Linked DNA regions of Homo sapiens: all the other regions are linked to region 1. The links are contacts of gene promoters, found by promoter capture Hi-C in blood cells and fetal thymus (Javierre and others, 2016). All regions are on one chromosome and are shown on one strand. Each heading gives the region's core, a stretch centred on a gene start or on the middle of the fragment in contact. The rest is flanking DNA. Distances are from core to core; before and after follow the strand shown. Region 1 holds the start of SPINT1 (serine peptidase inhibitor, Kunitz type 1). Region 2 has its middle 47 kb from the start of CHST14. Region 3 overlaps CHP1 (calcineurin like EF-hand protein 1). Region 4 has its middle 7.8 kb from the start of TRS-GCT4-2.

The links. The method cuts DNA at HindIII sites, captures the fragments that hold promoters and counts their contacts. A CHiCAGO score of 5 or more calls a contact.
Region 2: a contact is called between a fragment that was not itself captured here and the fragment with the promoter of SPINT1 in region 1, in 1 of 17 cell types (endothelial precursors). The highest score is 5.3, in endothelial precursors.
Region 3: a fragment that was not itself captured here is called in contact with the fragment with the promoter of SPINT1 in region 1 in 1 of 17 cell types (total B cells); the score reaches 5.3 in total B cells.
Region 4: a contact is called between a fragment that was not itself captured here and the fragment with the promoter of SPINT1 in region 1, in 2 of 17 cell types (endothelial precursors and M1 macrophages). The highest score is 6.2, in endothelial precursors.

The regions. Positions count from the first base shown.
Region 1 is chr15:40,842,710-40,845,492 of GRCh38, reverse strand. SPINT1 (serine peptidase inhibitor, Kunitz type 1) reads right to left here and starts at 1,445. Exons shown (of 11, transcript NM_003710.4): 1 at 1,307-1,445; 2 at 464-1,003. The coding sequence starts at 938. It overlaps SPINT1-AS1 (SPINT1 antisense RNA 1), which reads left to right and starts at 969. Exons shown (of 2, transcript NR_146468.1): 1 at 969-1,314. RefSeq lists silencers at 764-1,003, 1,294-1,353, 1,434-1,663, 1,825-2,007 and an enhancer at 1,301-1,872. The HindIII fragment of the contact is 21,246 bases long and covers 1-2,783 here.
Region 2 is chr15:40,516,458-40,519,157 of GRCh38, reverse strand. No RefSeq gene overlaps it. Among named protein-coding and RNA genes, the nearest start is that of CHST14, 47 kb to the right of the region's middle. The HindIII fragment of the contact is 582 bases long and covers 1,079-1,660 here.
Region 3 is chr15:41,253,030-41,255,732 of GRCh38, reverse strand. The region is part of intron 2 of CHP1 (calcineurin like EF-hand protein 1); the gene reads right to left. Among named protein-coding and RNA genes, the nearest start is that of CHP1, 23 kb to the right of the region's middle. The HindIII fragment of the contact is 164 bases long and covers 1,240-1,403 here.
Region 4 is chr15:40,584,729-40,587,428 of GRCh38, reverse strand. No RefSeq gene overlaps it. Among named protein-coding and RNA genes, the nearest start is that of TRS-GCT4-2, 7.8 kb to the left of the region's middle. The HindIII fragment of the contact is 2,698 bases long and covers 1-2,629 here.

The DNA.
Region 1 (2,783 bases), core at 196-2,695:
CTTGATTCGGCTGTACTGCCTACTTCTAAGGAGGGCTTCAGGTAGAAATAATCCCAGCACTTTGGGAGGCCAAGGTGGGTGGATCACCTGAGTTCAGAAGTTCAAGACCAGCCTGGCCAACATAGTGAAACCCCGTCTGTACCAAAAAAAAAAAAAAAAAAAAAAAAAAAAAAATTAGCCGGGTCTGGTAGCGGGTGCCTGTAGTTCCAGCTACTCCGGAGGCTGAGACAGAAGAATCACTTGAACGTGGAAGACGGAGGTTGCAGTGAGCAACCAGAGATTGCGCCATTGCACTCCAGCCTGGGCGACAAGAGCGAGACTCCGTCGCAAAAAAAAAGAAAGAAAAAGAAAAAAAAAAGTGAACTCTCCTTAACTCCTCTCTGATGTTCGTCTCCCCTAGGACCCCATAACCAGTCCCTTTTTTGAGTCTCTCCAAACCCATCCATCTTGGCACCCTCCTCACCTCCAAAGCCCTGGGTCCGCAGCTGGCGGTAGGAGCGGTACACTTCCCTCGTGAGGTAGTTGATGAAGCCCTCCCTGGGCGCGAACTTGCACACGAAGTTCTGCTCGTAGAGGCAGTTGATGAGGAAGCAGGCGGCGATGGCGTCCTCCCCGCGGTCGGGCTGCAGCTCCACTAGCGCCAAGTTGCAGTTCTGGGTGGTGCAGCAGGCGCGCACGCAGTCCCAGCCCCGGCGCACGGTGGGGGACTCCAGGAAGGTAGCTCCGTTGCTGACCGAGGCGTTGGTGTCCAGCACGAAGCCAGGCACCCCGGCGGTAAAGCTGTTCAGGCAGTCGGCTCCCGCGGGCAGCCCAGGGGGCGCGGGCGGTGGCCCGGCCTGGGTGCCCTGGAGGCCGAGCGTGCACAGAAGCCACAAGGCGACGGCAGGGATGCCGGCCGGGGCGAGGCGGGCGCGGGCCATCGTCCTCGCAGGGGCCATCGCCTTCCTCCCCAGGGGGGTCACCTTCAGAGCGCGGGCCTCTGGGTTCCGAGGGTGCTGGTGACCTGAGAAGAAGGGAGGGGACAGAGGAGGAGACACACCTGATCAGCCCGGGAGACTTTGGAGGAGGCGGGCCGGCCGGGAGGAAGTGGCGGGGAGGAGGGACCGGAGCACCCCAGGATCGAAGAGGGCGCACGGGCCCGGCCCTCCCACGCGCCCTCCAGGGACCCGGCAGCCAGACAGACGGACAGGCGGACCGCTAGGGAGCTCAAGTACCCGGACACACGCACGAGCGCAGAACAAAGGGCCGGACATGCTCCAGCCCGCTCCGCCTGCGCCTCGGCCTTGCGCGCGGGGGCCCGGGTTACCTGCGCAGGTGAGTTGGGTGGGGCCGGGTCCGCCGAGGTTCCGGTCCCAGCTTCCTGCGCGGCTCGGGTCGCGGCTTCCGACCCGGTGCTCGGAGAGCTGGGGCTCGGCCGCCTTCTCCCCCTGGTTTCTGGTGAAACTGAGTCAGCGCCGTCGGGGCGGGGCCGACATTCACCCTTGCGCTGCCGGCCCCGCCCACGCCCGGTGCGCTGCGGCCGCCTCTAGCGCGGAGCTCCAGGCCCGGCCCGCCCCGCGGCCCCGCAGCCCCGGTGCCTCCCCGGCAGCCAGCTCCCCGGAGGGGCTCTCGGGCTCCACCCAGTCCAGCCTCGCGAGGGAGCCCCGCGCCCGAAGCGCATACCCAGCCGGGAGGGGATGCGGCCGGGACGCGAGGGTCCGGCCTCTGGGGCGGCGGCCTCCAGTCTTCCTTTCCGGCCGGGGCCTGCTTTCCCAGCCCCAGACCTGAGGCCCGATGCAAATGATCTTTCCGGCCCTCAGGAAATCATTTCCATTTCGTGGCGGGAAGGTAACCCAAAAGTTGCGTGGCTGCACCTGTGATAACAGGGATCCGGGATGTCTGCCTCACTGTCAGCTCCGGGAAGCCCTCCCTGCTGTCAGGGTGAGAAACGGAGGCGATTCCCCGCGTCCAGGCTCCCCTGCGTGCTCCACGGGGCTTCCCTGTTGTTCGAGGCCCCTCCTCATCTTGTATGTACAGTTCGGTCCATTCCCTGCTATGGCTCATTGGACTGTTGCCCCCTTCCCTGGAGCCCAGGCTTCCTCTCTTTCACAAAGGGGACGCTGCTGGCTACTTTCTTCCAGGGAAATGTCATCCTTGGAAGCCTGGAGGTTCCAGTTCACCAAGTAGCTGAGTTAATGCCCTTCACGAAACAGTGGACTCCTTGAAGCCAAGCTCATTGCTCCTCCTGAGTAAAAAACTCTTAAGAGACCATTCTCTACGGCAAGGGTCTGAACAGGTGAAAGACAGATGAAGGCAGGGCTGGAGGAAGGAATCACATAGCATGCTCTCTTAAAATACAGATTCCAAACCTTTTCCTGATGGCTTAACAACCCCCAAACCAATGGGAACATTCTTCCCAGTTTCTCATCCAGAGCAGCTTTGCCTAGCAGATCCTGTGGCCAACCCTTGGATTTTGCTGAACTGCAACATCCTCCAGCTGCTCACATGATGCGTGTTGGGGTGGGAATCTGGGGCCTGTCTCCCCTTCTCTGGATGTTTAGGGTTTATCCACAGACCCTGGCACACTGGTGGATATACAACAATGGTGGTATGCTGGGAATGAAGAAAATGATTGTGCAGTCACTGGGAAGAAAGGGTTTTGTTGTGATTTGATTTCCCCTTATGGCTAACACATTCAAGAATCTTTATTTATTTATTTATTTATTTTTTTTTTTTTTTTTTTGAGACGGAGTCTTGCTCTGTCACCCAGGCTGGAGTGCAATGGCACGATCTCGGCTCACTGC
Region 2 (2,700 bases), core at 120-2,619, 330 kb after region 1:
TTTGGGTGACTGGGCCATAGTTTATTTAACCAACTATTGTTGGAACACTTAAATTATACCCATTTTTTTTTCACTGAAGTAAATAATGCTGGGATGAACTTCCTTGTTGCTGAATCTTTACAGAAATCCACGGTTCTTTTCTTAGTTAAATTCCCAAGACAAAGTGGATATGAAGTTTGTAAGGTGTTTCATATAATACAGTATATTAGTTAAGACTTTCCAGAAAGGCTTAATTAGGAGGCTTTCTACCTTATTTATTTATTTTTAATTTTTTTGAGACGGGGTCTCACTTTGTGCAGTAGCGTGATCATAGCTCACTACAGCTTCAAATTCGTGGGCTCAAGTGATCCTCCTGCCTCAGCCTCCCACAGTGCTGGGAGTTTGAGGCTACAGTGAGCTATGATCGTGGCACTGCACTCCAGCCTGGTTGACAGACTGAGACGCTGTCTCTAAAAAAATTAAGATAAAATAAAATAAAAATTAAGGGCTTTCTCCTCATATGTTAGTGGAGATTAAACCAATAGAGAAAATTATAACGATTTAAAAAATACTATAAGTTCAGAAACATTTTATTCTTTTTCAAAATAATTTTTCTTTTTCTCCTCATGTTACTTTGTTTAAGATAAATTCAGAAACATTTTAAAGTGAGCTTTATTTATTTATTTATTTATTTTTTGAGACCAAGTCTCGCTCTGTTGCCCAGGCTGGAGTGCAATGGTGCAGTCTCGGCTCACTGCAACCTCCGCCTCCTGGGTTCAAGGGATTCTCCTGCCTCAGCCTCCTGAGTAGTGGGATTAATGGCGCCCACCACCATGACTGGCTAATTTTTCTGATTTTAATAGAGACGGGGTTTTACCATGTTGGTCAGGCTGGTATTAAACTCCTGACCTCGTGATCCACCCCGCCTCAGACTCCCAAACTGCTGGGATTACAGGTGTGAGGCCACTGCACTCTGCCGCTTTATTTTTATTAATCACAACTACACCTATATACTTCTCCTATTTTTTTATTTTTACGAATTTTAAAAACAGCAAATTTGAAGGAATAGTATTAACACCCCTCCACTCTCCACCAAGCTTCAACATTTTAGGCATTATACAACTTTGCTCTCTCTCTTTATAAATATATATATATATTTTGAGATGGAGTTTCTCTCTTGTTGCCCAGGCTGGAGTGCAATGGCGCAATCTCGGCTCACCACAACATCCGCCTCCTGGGTTCAAATGATTCTCCTGCCTCAGCCTCCCGAGGAGCTGGGATTTCAGGCATGCGCCACCACGCCCAGCTGATTTTGTATTTTTAGTGGAGACAGGGTTTCTCCATGTTGGTCAGACTGGTCTTGAACTCCCGACCTCAGGTGATCTGCCCACCTCGGCCTCTCAAAGTGCTGGGATTATAGGCATGAGCCACCATGCCCAGCCATGAATACTTTTTTGCTTAACCTTTTGAAAGTAAATTGCAAATGTTATGTCACTTCACCTCTGAATATATTTGCATGTATCTCCTAAAAGAGGGACATTCCCCTACATAACTACAAAATCATTATCATGCCTAAAAAGTTAACAATAATTCTCTAATATCATCTAATATTTAGTTTATATAACATTTTACCCAATTGTCCCTAATTATAGATTTTTAAAAATCAGATTCAATCCAAGCTTATGAATTGTTGTATCCTTTAAGCTGGAAGAGTCGCTTCTTTCTTTTTCTATAACATTGTCTTTTTGAAGACTCCAGGCCAGCTTTCTTACAGAATGTTCCACATTTTGGATTGAGTGAGTGTTTCTTCATGGTGTTGTTTAACTTGTTCCTCTGGCCCTCTCTGTTTTCTGTAAATTGGAAGGTTGGTGCAGAGAACCTGTATAAAATAATTCTACCGGCTGGGTGCGGTGGCTCACACCTGTTATCCCAGCACTTTGGGATGCCGAGGCGGGTGGATCACCTGGGGTCAGGAGTTCCAGACCAGTGTGGCCAACATGGTGAAACCCCGTCTCTACTAAAAATACAAAAAATTAGCCAGGCGTGGTGGCAGGCGCCTGTAATCCTAGCTACTCAGAAGGGGCAGGGGAATTGCTTGAACCTGGGAGGCGGAGGTTGCAGTGAGCCGAGATCGCACCACTGCACTCCAGCCTGGACAACAAGAGTGAAACTCTGTTTCAATTAAAAAAAAAAAAGAATTCTACCATAGTTGGTTGCATTATTGGTTCTGATTTATTCTATCCTTTCCTGTGAGGTGATTATACGTCCTCTCCTTTTGCTATGTGACTTGCGGCACTCCTTTTTAGGAGGAATACACTTCACTGTCCCATTAATGGCGGGCATGGTCACACGACTTGAGGTGGCCAATAAATGTAAGTGGAAATGACTATGCTTTTCCCTGCAGAAGGTTTAAGAACTATGGCAGACTTCTATCACTTTCCTTTTCCCTCTGCCATGAGGATTACATATTTCAAATAGAGGCTACATCTTCTGCCCAGATCCCAGAATGGAGAGGACAACACAGAGCAGAACCACCAATGACCACAGCCGACATAAAATGTGCATAAGAAATAAACCCTTCTTACTGTAAGCCACTAAGAGTTTTGGGTTATTTGTTACTACAGTGTAACTCAGAGAAAGCTAATTAAAATATAAACACATATGTCAGCAATATTATTTCTTTCATCACAGAAGAGCCTTGCTGTATCCATAGAGTTGAGA
Region 3 (2,703 bases), core at 72-2,571, 410 kb before region 1:
GCCCTAATATTGAACCTTTTGAATGAAAGTTACTCTCCCCCAAATTCTTTATTTTTATTTTTTTGAGATGGAGTTTCGCTCCCAGGCTGGAGTGTAGTGGCTTGATCTCTGGGTTCACTGCAACCTCCTCCTCCCGGGTTCAAGCGATTCTACTGCTTCAGTCTCCCAAGTAGCTAGCATTACAAGCGGGTGCTACCATGCCCGGCCAATTTTTGTATTTTTAGTAGAGGTGGGGTTTTACCACATTGGCCAGGCTGGTCTTGAACTCCTGACCTCAGGTGATCCACCCACCTCAGCCTCCCAAAGTCCTGGGATTACAGGCGTGAGCCACCGCACCCAGTCCCCCAATTTTTCAATAAGTATTTTTTAAAAACTTTCTTTTGTTGGTTCCTGGGCCAAGAATACAAAGCTGTCTACAACTTATCTGTGCTGCAGTCTTCAAAAATATCAATGTCATGGAGGACAAAGAAAAGCAGAGGATTGTTCCAGATCAAGGGGGGGCTAAAGAGACACACAACAAAACCCAACACATGATCCCGGACTAGGAAAAAAACTGCTATAAGGACATTATTGGATAATATGTGAAAATGAAGCATGGACCATATAAAATATGGAATATTACATAATGGTACTGTTTCAAAATGCAACTTTCTTGATTTTGATCTGAGAATGTCCTTTCTATAGGAAATAAACAGTGAAGTATGTGACAAAATGTTAACAATTGGTGAATCTGGGTATCAGAATAAAAGTTATCTTGTATTGTTCTTGTAACTTCAAGTTTAAAATTATTTCCAGATAAAAAGTTAAAAAAAAGATTATAAACTAGATTTTACTCCTGCCTTCAAGAAGTTTACTTACAGACAGATAAAATGTATACCTCCACCCTCTTTGTAATATATGCTAGCAAAGACGGAAGATAATAAAATACTCCTACTGTACCCAGGAGACTTCACGCTCTTTTCCTCTTGTGGTTTAACGTTTACGTGGTGCTTAATTAACTCAGCAAGCTCTTCTCCACCACATTTGGTGACACAGGTAGAAACTGACCTAGTGGACTGAACACAAAGCTCTGGAACAATCATCCTGGATTCTAGTCCTTCTTGACCATTTAGTGTAATAATTTTATATCAATGCATGAACCAGAAGAAGTCATTCATAAGATAACTGGATTGCTTAAGATGATGAAAGAGAAAATTACCGAGGTCCTGATTATTTAATTCAACAAACATGTACTAAGCTTTTATTACATAATTTGTTCTGTAATACAAAGTCTACACTATCATCAAAATGTAGCTCCTCCTGTCTGACAGAGGTCAAGAAACAATAACTACTCACTTTTAAATTAAGACTAAGGCTGATTTGAATTGCATGGCTACATACTTCAGTTTAATGTCTAACAAGCTTAAGAAACTTTAGCTGAGAAAAGGCAGTTTAAATACCAAGTCTAGTATCAAGTGGTGATGCACAACCTAGCCTGAACTTCAGTCTCAATAAGGAGGTGTACACTTGGCCTTCCGATGGACCTGTCCTTTGATACTTTCTAACTCTACTCTTAGAATTTAGATTGTATATATAATGTAGTTCCAGTCACCCAGATCAAGGACAGTATTGCTAAAAGTATTAAAGTTAAAAAGAAAGAGGGCTGGGTATGGCAGCTCAGCCTATAATCCCAGCACTTTTGGAGGCCAAGGTGGAAGAACTGCTTCAGGCTAGGAGTTCGAGACCAGCCTGGGCAACAGAGCAAGACCACATCTCTAAAAAGTTTAAAAAAAAAAAAAAAATTAGCCAGGCATGGTGGCACGTGCCTGTAGTCCCAGCTACTTGGGAAGCTGAAGCGGGAGGATTGTTTGAGCCTAGAAGGTCAAGGCTGCAAGGAGCCATGGTAACATCACTGCCCTCGAGCCTGGGTGACAGAGTGAGACCCTGTTTCAAAACAGAAAAAACAAAACAAACAGAAAGAGTATAAAAAATAATTTGTCAGCCGGGCGCAGTGGCTCACACCTGTAATCCCAGCACTTTGGGAGGCCGAGGCGGGAGGATCATGAGGTCAAGAGATGAAGACCAACCTGGCTAACACGGTGAAACCCCGTCTCTACTAAAAAAACAAAAAATTAGCTAGGCGTGGTGACGGGCACCTGTAGTCCCAGCTACTCGGGAGACTGAGGCAGGAGAATGGCATGAACCTGGGAGGTGGAGGTTGCAGTGAGCCAAGATTGCGCCACTGCACTCCAGCCTGGTGACAGAGCAAGACTCCGTCTCAAAATAAATAAATAAATAAATAAATAAATAAATAAATAAATAAATAAATACTTTGTCAACTGTTAAATAAATAATATACGAACAAGTTATTATTACTGGTTGCTTTATAGTAGAATGTAGATCTGGGCAGTTTCTCTAAAACTTAGATTCTCAAATTTACCCATCAACATAAACCTAATAGAAAAAAATAAATACTCCAAAGTGGCCTAAACACCACAAGCATAAGATCCATCCGAAGGCCGGGCACAGTGGCTCACGCCTGTAATCCCAGCACTTTGGGAGGCTGAGGCAGGTGGATCACGAGGTCAAGAGATCAAGACCATCCTGGCCAACATGGTGAAACCCCGTCTCTACTAAAAACACAAAAATTAGCTGGGCATGGTGGCGCGAGCCTGTAGTCCCAGCTACTCTGGAGGCTGAGAAAGGAGAATCACTTGAACCTGG
Region 4 (2,700 bases), core at 31-2,530, 260 kb after region 1:
TAATTGCATCACTTATTATTTACTTGAATTACTAAAACATTTTCAAGAACCTTTTGTCTAGATGTCTTGGTAATGAAGAGATAGAAGATGCAAGTTCTTGGGCTCTTTGTGTCGGAGAGCATGCGGGGTCTAGAATTCCAAAGCCATGAACTGCTTTTAGATCCCTCAGTTCTTTTATGATGGAGAAGTTGTATTTGAATCTGCTAAGGCAAATTAAAGCAGTTAGTCATTTTTGCAAATTATTATTATTATTATTTTTGAAACGGAGTCTTGCTCTGTCGCCCAGGCTGGAGTGCACTGGCGCTATCTCAGCTCACTGCAAGCTCCACCTCCTGGGTTCATGCCATTCTCCTGCCTCAGCCTCCCTAGTAGGTGGACTACAGGCGCCCGCCACCATGCCTGGCTAATTTTTTTTTTGTATTTTTAGTAGAGACAGGCTTTTACCGTGTTAGCCAGGATGGTCTCGATCTCCTGACCTCATGATCCGCCCACCTCAGCCTCCCAAAGTGCTGGGATTATAGGTGTGAGCCACCAAGCGCCTGGCCCATTTTTGCAAATTATTAATTATTGCTTACCATTATAGTCTCCAAAATACTAGGTGTATGGTGTTATCTTTCCACCACTGGTGAAAACAACCCATGGTCTAGGCACTTTGGAGTAGCACCCACCAGCTGTGTGAAGGTCAAATGGATCTTAAAGAGTTGTGCAGTGGGACTGAAAGAGGAGAGTCACTATTTCAGAGATAACCAAATGTTAAAAAAAAGAGGTGAGATATTTTAATATTTGTTGTTTAAAAGTTTTATCTTGATAGTATTACACAATTATACAATACATACATACGTAATGTAATATGCATGTACAGTTTAAAAATAACAATAATAAGGCCAGGTGCAGTGGCTCACACATGTAATCCCAGCACTTTGGGAGGCCAAGGTTGGGGACGATCGCTTGAGGCCAGTAGTTCGAGACCAGCCTAGGTAACACAGTGAGACTCTGTCTCTACAAAATATTAAAAATTAGCCAGGTGTGGTGGTATGCACCCATATTCTCAGCTACTCAAGAGGCTCAAATGGGTGAATCACTTGAGCCCAAGAGTTCCAGACAGGCCTGGGAAACATGGCAAAACCCTGTCTCTACCAAAAATGCAAAAATTAGCTGGGTGTGCTGGTGTGTGCTGCGGTCCCAGCTACTCAGGAGGCTGAAGTGGGAGGATCACTTGAACCTGGGAGGTCGAGAGTACAGTGAGCCATGATCGTGCCACTGCAATCCAGCCTGGGCAACAGAGCAGGACCTTGTCTCCGAAAAAAAAAAGAAAGAAAGAAAGAAAGAAAAAAACAGCAATGCTGTATATACACCACCCAGCTTGAGAAATAGAACATTACCAGCCCCTTTGTTTCTTTTTTAAAAAATGATTTTTAATTATTTTAATTTTTTTTTCCTACCCTCTTGGCAGGTGGCAGATTACTAGCACCTTTGATGCTTCCTGTGTGTCCCTTCCTGGAGGCATCCTCCCACCAAAAAGATAACTACTTTGGCCGGGCACAGTGGCTCACGCCTGTAATCTCAGCACTTTGTGAGGATGAGGCAGGCAGACCACGAGGTCAGGAGTTTGAGACCAGCCTCACCAATATGGTGAAACCCTGTCTCTACTAAAAAAAAAAAAAATACAAAAAATTAGCCAGGCGTGGTGGCGGGCGCCTATAATCCCAGCTACTCGGGAGGCTGAGGCAGGAGAATCGCTTGAACCTGGGAGGCGGAGGTTGCAGTGAGCCAAGATCCCGCCACTGCACTCCAGCCAGGGAGACAGAGTGAGACTCCATTTCCAAAAAAAAAAAAGGTAACTACTTTTTGTTTGTTTGTTTGTTTGTTTGTTTGAGACGGAGTCACACTCTGTCGCCCCCGGCTGGAGTGCAGTGGCGCGATCTCGGCTCACTGCAAACTCCGCCTCCCGGGTTCATGCGATTCTCCTGCCTCAGCCTCCCGAGAAGCTGGGATTGCGGTGCATGTCACCACGCCTGGCTAATTTTTTGTATTTGTAGTAGAGACGGGGTTTCACCGTGTTAGCCAAGATGGTCTCGATCTCCTGACCTCGTGATCCACCTGCCTTGGCCTCCCAAAGTGCTGGGATTACAGGCGTGAGCCACCGTGTCTGGCAAAGATAACAACTTTTCTGAATTTCATGTTAATCATTCTCTTGTTTTTCTTACCAAATATACATATTTATACATATTTGTAGTCTTAAATATGTTTTGTCTGTTTTTTAATTTTATATAATGTATTCATTTTATATAACGTATTCATCTGTAACTTCTGTCACTGGACACTGTTTTATCCGTATAATTCGTTCATTTTCACTGCTGATTAGTTTGCAATTATCTGAACATACAATTAGGTATCCATTCTCTTATTGATGGATATTTTTGTTATCTCCAGTCTTTTGCTGCAAGAACACTGCTGTGACTGTTTTTATATGTCTCTTGGGGCACATGTACAAGTGTTTCTGTAGGTAGATAGCTAGAAGTAGAGTCATTGGTTATGTGTGTGTTCAACTTTAGTAGGCAATTCTTAACTGTTTTCACCTAGTTAATGGTTGACAAAAATGTTGCAGTTTTGAAAACGTGGACAAGCTTCAAATGAAAAGAAGAGGATGACAGAGGACTTGGAGGGGAAGAAAACAAAAATCATAATCATAGACAATAT